3 separate regions of the Homo sapiens genome follow, and all the other regions are linked to region 1. The links are contacts of gene promoters, found by promoter capture Hi-C in human tissues and cell types (Jung and others, 2019). All regions are on one chromosome and are shown on one strand. The core of a region is centred on a gene start or on the middle of the fragment in contact, and the rest is flanking DNA. Distances in the headings are between cores, read along the strand shown.

Evidence for each region. Contacts are between HindIII fragments. The study calls those that stand out against the background at their distance.
Region 2: a fragment that was not itself captured here is called in contact with the fragment with the promoter of AUNIP in region 1 in 1 of the 25 tissues and cell types used here (small bowel).
Region 3: a contact is called between a fragment that was not itself captured here and the fragment with the promoter of AUNIP in region 1, in 10 of the 25 tissues and cell types used here (H1 embryonic stem cells, IMR-90 fibroblasts, adrenal gland and 7 more).

Annotation. Positions count from the first base shown.
Region 1 is chr1:25,858,144-25,860,886 of GRCh38, forward strand. AUNIP (aurora kinase A and ninein interacting protein) reads right to left here and starts at 1,314. Exons shown (of 3, transcript NM_024037.3): 1 at 1,137-1,314. The coding sequence starts at 1,214. RefSeq lists enhancers at 969-1,594, 1,492-1,721, 1,595-2,220 and silencers at 1,212-1,471, 2,072-2,131. The HindIII fragment of the contact is 14,334 bases long and covers 1-2,743 here.
Region 2 is chr1:26,073,063-26,075,805 of GRCh38, forward strand. No RefSeq gene overlaps it. Among named protein-coding and RNA genes, the nearest start is that of TRIM63, 6.8 kb to the left of the region's middle. The HindIII fragment of the contact is 3,802 bases long and covers 1-2,743 here.
Region 3 is chr1:25,990,849-25,993,591 of GRCh38, forward strand. It overlaps PAFAH2 (platelet activating factor acetylhydrolase 2), which reads right to left. Exons shown (of 11, transcript NM_000437.4): 2 at 1-15. Among named protein-coding and RNA genes, the nearest start is that of PAFAH2, 5.8 kb to the right of the region's middle. RefSeq lists an enhancer at 2,723-2,743. The HindIII fragment of the contact is 7,134 bases long and covers 1-2,743 here.

The sequences.
Region 1 (2,743 bases), core at 64-2,563:
GCGACAGAGCAAGACTCCATCTCAAAAAATAATAATAATAAATAATAATAATAAAATGATCAAATTTCTTATCTATAAAACCAGGATAATGACAAAATCTACTTTACTGAATTTTGGTGAGTACCTGCCATTGATAAAGTGTATAAAGTCTCGGCAAAATGCCTGACACATAGAAAGCACTCAATAAAGGTTAGGTATTGTTGTTATTATTTATACACCTCTTTTCTTCCCTATAAGACTGTGAGCAACCTGAGAGCAAGAATCTTGCCCCTAGTGTCTGTTTTGAGCCTGTTTTCCGTATGTAAAATGGGTATCATTACACTATCTACCATATAGAATTGTACCAAACAAGGTAACATACCTAAAACACTTAGCACCAGCATAAAATGCTCAATAAACATGAATGATTATTATGTCGCACTTTTGTTTCTTTACAGTGACTGAAGAGCATCTTGCCTAGGTGACAGACCTGAATGTGATTTCCAGCTCCTTCTAGTTAGGCGGGCCTAGGTTAGTTACTGAACCTCAGTTTCCTCATTCCCAGCAAGAATGACGACACATATAACGCATATTCAGTATCTAATGCAGTATCCGGCACCCAGTGACTGCTCAGTACATAGGAGGCCAGCTCCCCTTCCCATAGCTTCTACTTTTCCCCTCAAAGTTACCGGTTCTGGGCAGGTAGTTGGCCTGCAACTTGGCAAATTGGGTGGAAACAGACCCCGGGGTGAGAATTTCCCCAATTTGCATTCGCATCCATCTCCCAATGCTCCAGCCTCTACTAGGACGTCTCGCAGGGACTGTGGCCTCCTAGGGAGCCTGGTCAGTTCAACTGCTCCGAGCGAACTTTCCCTCCGCCTCTCCCACACCTGAACCTTCGCCGCCCCTCCCTGCGCACCGCTCCTCCAGACCCCCCAACAGCACGCTCTTTCCTTCCGTCCCTCCCATCCTCCCCAAGCCCCGTTTTTCAACCTTCTTCAGACCACAATCCCTCTCGCCTGTGAATCCCCAACGCTGTTCCCTTCTCTGTCCCCGACTTCGCTTTCATCATCTCCAGGTGTCCCCCAAACTCCTCCCGTCTTACGCCTCCAGGCCCTACCTGGTTCCCAACGCCCTCTCATCCCCCAGCGTCCCACCTGCACTTTCCGCCTCTTCAGCGCCGCCGCGTCCAGCCACACGCCGCAGGCCTCCTCCTCGGGGCCTGTCCGCCTCATGGCCGCTGAGGAGACGAAGCCGGCAGGACGCCGGCGCAGGCTCCCGGCGCCTCAGGGAACGCCAGAACCGCGGCCGCCGACGTTCGGATCTCGCGCCAACGCTGGGGGCGGGGCTACGTCGCGACCGCCCCGGGCGCCAGCCCCGCCCCGGCAAGGCCCTGGCCCCCTTCGCTGTGCCCCGCCCACGCACTAACTTTCGCGGCCGGTCCCTTGAGTGCGTGCGGCATATTTCCCTGCGCGGAGGAGTGCGTGTTCTTTCTGATCCGCTCTTTCAAGAGCGGATTCGGAAGCTGCTGTGTGAACGGTTCTCGACAGCCTCAGAAATGTACATTTTCTTTTTGCTGTATTGAAAATTTCTTACAGTATTTCCCGGGCTTAGGAATTTGTTCGTGTCATCGCTGAATCTTCGCGATCACCCCCAGAAGGAAGTGGCTGAGCCGAGATCAGGCCCGTCGACTCCAGACCAGGGGTCCTCGACCTAAGTGGTTACCAGACACTCGAGTGTGCGAACAACTTTGGTAATTTTTTTTTTTTAATGTAAGCGTAACTACGAAGCCACATGGGAGAGGATTTTGAAGAGGTTAAAATTTGGGGTCAGGAACTAGATTTCAGTCCTGCTTTCACCGTTTACTGTGCCTTGGATTTTAAAGAGGATCAAATGAGGTTGTGAAAGTACTTTGTGAATTCAGAAAACCCCTTGGAAATGCAAAAATGTTGGCACCCCCACCCATCCTTCCGTCCCTAACCACAATCTCCATAGATGGAATATATGTACATTATACGTAATGTTTACATATTGTATATGTAAAAAAAATTTTTTTTTGAGACGGAGTCTCACTGTCGCCCAGGCTGGAGTGCAGTGGCGCTATCTCGGCTCACTGCAGCCCCGCCTCCTGGGTTCAAGCGGTTCTTCTGTCTCAGCCTCCCTAGTAGCTGGAAGTACAGGCGCACGCCACCACACCCAGCTAATTTTTGTATTTTTAGTAGAGACGGGGTTTCACCATTGGCCAGGCTGGTCTCGAACTCCTGACCTCGTGATACGCCTGCCTCAGCCTCCCAAAGTGCTGGGATTACAGGCATGAGCCACCGCGCCCGGCCAAAAATTTTGTAATTTTTTTTTTTTGGTGGAGGGAGGATAGAAGCTCAGCCACCTCTTGCCCAGTCTGCAGCAGGTCAGCCAGGAACCTCAACCATCTCTGCAGCCAGAGCCTGTCTTCATGGTGGACAGAGCCATCTCGCTTTGTCACCCAGGCTCGGGTACAGTGGCACAGTCTCAGCTCACTGCAGCCTCAACCTCTTGGGCTCAAGCGATCCTGCCACCTCAGCCTCCCAAGTAGCTGGGACTACAGGTGTGTGCCACCACGCCTGGCTAATTTTTGTATTTTTAGTAGAGATGGGTTTTCGCCATGTTGGCCAGACTGGTCTCAACTTCCTGCCCTCAGGTGATATGCCTGCCTCAGCCTCCCAAAGTGCTGGGATTACAAGCGTGAGTCACCATGCCTGGCCTATATCAAAATATTTATTTATAT
Region 2 (2,743 bases), core at 118-2,617, 210 kb after region 1:
AACATACCGTAACACTATAGTACTGGCAGATGAAGAGACAATTACGGAACACCAGTGGGTGTCTGGACCCAGAGCTCTTAACCACTATATTTACTGCCTCCCTCTCTGCAAGTCACTTCATTTATTTTTATTCCTTATGAATGAAAGTTTCAAACACACAAAACTAGAGAGAACAGTATAATGGGCTCACGTAATCAAACCCAGCTTAACTCGTTAATCATTGCCCCAATATTCCCATACACTTCTTTTATCTTTTCTTTCTTTTTTTTTTGAGACGGAGTTTCGCTCTTGTTGCGCAAGCTGGGGTGCATTGGTGCGATCTTGGCTCACTGCAACCTCTGCCTCCCGGGTTCAAGCAATTCTCCTGCCTCAGCCTCCCGAGTAGCTGGGATTACAGGCGCATGCCACAATACCCGGCTAATTTTTGTATTTTTAGTAGAGACGGGGTTTCACCATGTTGGCCAGGCTGGTCTCGAACTCCTGACCTCAAGTGATCAGCCCACCTCAGCCTCCCAAGCTACTGGGATTACAGACGTGAGCTACCGTGCCTGGCCCACGCTTCTTTTGTCTAAATTTTTTTTTTTGAAACAAAGTCTCACTCTATTGTCCAGCCTGGAGTGCAGTGGCGTGATCTTGGCTCACTGCAACCTCCACCTCCCAGGTTCAAGCGATTCTTCTGCCTCAGCCTCCCGAGTAACTGGGATTACAGGCACTCGCCATCACGCCCAGCTAATTTTGTTTTTACTTTTAGTAGAGACAAGGTTTCACTATGTTGGCCAGGCTGGTCTCAAACTCTTGACCTCAGGTGATCCTCCCACTTTGGTTTCCCAAAGTGCTGGGATTACAGGCGTGAACCACTGCACCCAGCCTCTTTTCTTTTCTTATTTTTTCTTTTCTTTTCTTTTCTCAGAAGGAGTCTCACTCTGTTGTCCAGGCTGGCTGAAGTGGTGCAATCTTGGCTCACTGCAACCTCCACCTCCTGGGTTCAAGCAATTCTCTGCCTCAGCCTCCGTGCCCAGCCTTTTCTAAAATATTTTAAAGAAAATGTTAGACATTAAGTCATTTCACCCATAAATACTCCAATATGCATTTCTCATAGATAAGGATTTTTGTTACATAATCACCATGCCATTATGTTAACAAACAATAATTAAAGTTTTTTTTTTTCTGAGACAGGGTCTCACTCCGTTACTCAGGCTGAGACCTCTGTTGTTTTTGTCTCATGGATCTCTTTTAAACTGTAACAACTGTCATCCCTCTCATTCTTCTGTGCCATTGATTTATCAGAGAATTATTCTGGGTATTATGATTCTCATTTTTATATATCAGGCACTGAAGCTTAAGTGACTTGTAGAAAGTCACCCAGCTAAGCAACAGACCTGTCATTTAGAATTGCTCCCAAAGTCTGTGTCATGAGTGTAGGAAGCTGTAGTGCCCAAGAGGGTCCCAGCTGGGTAGAAGACAGGCAAGGCATCAGGGAGAATGGTCTAGGCCTGGCAAGGAAAAAGGGGAGGTAGAGGGTAATAGCAATTATAATGCTGTGTTTTATTGATTTCAGTGCTTGCAAGTGGCTGGGCATCTACAAAGAGTTTTGAGGCACTATTTTATTCAGTCCTCACAACAACTATAAATAGGTTATCCTTAAATTTTTTTAATCGACAAGTAAAAATTGCATATATTTATGGTGTACCACATGATGTTTTGATATATGTATATATTGTGGAATGGCTAAATCAAGCTATTTAACATATGCATGACCTCACATACTTATTGTTTCATGGTGGGAACACTTAAAATCTACTCTCTTAGCAATTTTCAAGTATACATGTCATACTTATTGTCCTCATTTCACAGATGAGGCACAGTTTAGGGTATGGAGTTGCCCCAAGACCCACAGCTCATGTAGGCAAAGCTGCAACAGGCCTGTTTAACCCTCAAAGTCTATGCTTTTTCTTTTTCTTTTTTTAGACAGAGTCTTGCTGTCTGTCACTCAGGCTGGAGTGCAGTGGCGCTATCTCAGCTCACTGCACCCTCCACCTCCTGGGTTCAAGCGATTCTCATGCCTCAGCCTCCCGAGTAGATGAGATTACAGGTGCCCACCACCACGCCTGGCTAATTTGTTGTATTTTTAGTAGAGATGGGTTTTCACCATGTTGGCCAGTCTCTAAATCCTGACCTCAGGTGATCTGCCTGCCCCAGCCTCCCAAAGTGCTGGGATTACAGGCATGAGCCATCGTTACCAGCCTATGTTTTTGTTTTTTTTTTAATTGTCTCTAGAAAGGGAACTTTTCAGAGATCTGAGATTTTTTTGATGCCTCTTGGTTCAGAGGAGAAAACCCTGGCCTAGGGCCCAGACACCTGGGTTCCATCTCCATCTCTGTTGGAGACCTGAAATGTGATGCCCTGCAAACCATACCCACCCTCAGTTTCTTCATCTGCCAAATGGAGCATCTACAGGAGATGATCCTGAATGGTCCTTCCACATCCCCAGTGGCCAAGTTCTCAGAGGAGTGCTCCGGTGATGACACAGGCCCAAGGGGTGGTGATGCTGGAGAGGAAACAACTGTCCATCTCCCCTTTCATGTCCACATAGTTCAGGCTTGTGGAAGTGCTTCCCTGGTACATCATGGAGCAGATCTTTTTCACATGTGTGTACCTGTTCTCCCTCATTTCCTCCCTAGGAGTGTGAGGTCTGCCCTGCCTTGCTCTGCATTTCCCCTCAAGCCTCTGCTTGGAGCACCCT
Region 3 (2,743 bases), core at 83-2,582, 130 kb after region 1:
AGCTGAACTTGCTGGCTGGATGGGGGAACACAGAACAGCAGCCGCTTGCTGGTTTCCTCTCGGCTTCCTGTTGCTGAAATGTGTTATCTGTTACCCTGTCCACCCCTCCTTAGCACCTCATCCTCCCTGCCGTCGCTCATTAAATCTTGCACCTACTACTTTGCTACATTGCCTTTGCCAAGGTTGGGGGTTGTTTTTTATTTTGCTAGGGTGAGGAGATGGCTGGAAGACGAAAGAGAGCCATCCATACTCCTTACAGCCCATTAACGTATGTTTATCCAGCAGCTACTGCTGCAGAGACTGTCACACAGACCTTGCTCTCCTGAGGCTAATAGTAACCACTAAGATCCATTATTTACGGTTAGCACTGTACTGACCTCTTTATAGACACTATACACATTGCATCATTTCATTGTCTCAACCACTCTCTGAGGTAGGTACTTTTTTTTTTGAGACGGAGTCTCGCTCTGTTGCTAGGCTGGAGTGCAGTGGCATGATCTTGCTCGCTGCAACCTCCGACTCCCTGGTTCAAGCGATTCTCCTGCCTCAGCCTCCTGAGTAGCTGGGATTACAGGCACGTGCCACCATGCCCAGCTAATTTTTTGTTTAATTTTTAGTAGAGACGGGGTTTCGCCATGTTGGCCAGGATGGTCTTGATCTCCTGACCTCGTGATCTACCCACTTTGGCCTCCCAAAGTGCTGGGATTACAGGCGTGAGCCACCGCGCCTGGCCTGAGGTAGGTACTATTAAGACCTTGTTTTGGCCAGGCACGGTGGCTCACGCCTGTAATCCAAGCACTTTGGGAGGTCGAGGCGGGCAGATCACCTGAGGTCAGGAGTTCAAGACCAGCCTGGCCAACATGGCGAAACCCCGTCTCTACTAAAAATACAAAAATTAGCCGGGTGCAGTGGCAGGCACCTATAGTCCCAGCTACTCAGGAAGCTGAGGCAAGAGAATCGCTTGAACCTGGGAGGCAGAGGTTGCAGTGAGCCGAGATTGCACCACTGCACTCCAGCCTGGGTGACAGAGTGAGACCCTGTCTCAAAAAACAAACAAACAAACAAAAGACCCTGTTTTACAGATGAGGAAACTAAGGCATAAAGAGGTTGAATAACCTTCCCAAGTTACCCAGTGGCAAACCCATCTCTGCCTAATCCGGAAGCTAAGTTCTTAACCATTACTGATCCTGCTCAGGGGGAGATTCAGTTATACAGATGCAAAGTTACTGAACTAAGCTTTTTCTTAAAACCGTTTGATTTTTTTGAGAGACAGGGTCTTGCTATGTTGTCCAGGCTGGTCTCAAACTCCTGGGCTCAAACAATACACCTGCCTAGGCCTCCCAAGTAGCTGGGATTACAGGTAAGAGCCACCACACCCAGCTTTTAAACTACTGAATATGGGGTAGCACTTATGCTGGGCCTTTAAAGATGAGGAAGTTGAGAGGCAGGGGAGGAGGAAGAAAGCACTTATAGAAAAAATCCTAAGAGGAAAAAAAGCAGAGGTAGGGAAAAGTATGATGTGGGCAGTAGATCAAACAGATGCTTTCAGCATGACAGGCATGCACACTCCTGACTAGATAACATTCCTACGGCTCAGCTGCTTCCTAAACTGGTGCCAGTGCTCCCCTAACCCTCTTCAGTTTCATCATCTCCAACACCACCATCATCATCATACTTACTCTGTGCCAGGAACTATGTTTAGTGCTTTTCACATATTATTTTATTTAATTCTTTCAACAGTCCTCTGAGATACGTATTATTATCTCATTTTACAGATGAGGAAACAGATGCTTGACAAAGGCAATTTACCCAATAACATATGGCGAGCAGAGCCAGAATTCGATCATGGACAATGTGGTTGTAACATGAGAATGTCAAACTTCCCAGTGTCCCTTGCCTTGTGATTTGGGTGGGGCTGACCCCTCCTTAACCTCCGGAGTTGAGCCTTAATTAACCGGAGCCAATCAGTCCTTCTTATTCTCCGGTCAGTATTTGGATGAAAAGTGCGCGTATGGCATTAGGTTGGTCCAATAGGCGTAAAACCCGGGACTTTGGTATGACGGTTGAGGGGAGAAAAGTTATTTCCTGTGTTGGACTAGTGTGATGTGCAGATGTCACCTGTCAAGTGGCCTTGAACCACAGCAGCCACTTTTGCCACCTTGAGGATGAAGATACCCATGGTGGATGGGAAAACCAGAAGAATCACAGAGAAATAGAGGCCCATTTGTGAAGACATTAAGAATCCACAGATTAGACCATACCTGAAACCTGACCCACTCCTAGACTTTCTAGTTACATGAGTCAGTAAGTTCCCTTTCTTGGTTAAACCAACTGAAGTTAGATTTCTTTTGGTTGTAACCAAAAGCATCTAAATGGATACACACTGAGTCTGGGGTCCACATGTTAATGATTAAATTATTCTGCTTCCTTTAAGATGCTCTGGGAGGGATTCAGGAGTTCCAGTCAAAGCATGTCTGGGTAAGAAGAGACCTAAGGGAGCATTTCCGTCAATCCCCTCCACAATCGTTTTCCCCTTCTCCGCGTACATACACGTGCTTTACCAGGGAAGACACCAAGGTCCGGAGAGATTAAGTGAGCTGCTCAGAGTCACAAGCAGAACGATGATAACAACACACAGTCTCCTGGTTGTCAGCTGCCACTTGTCTGGTCTCAACAATCCTAACATCATTCTATTTAACTTTGAAAGATAAGAAATTATTTTCTTTCTACTACAGATAGCATC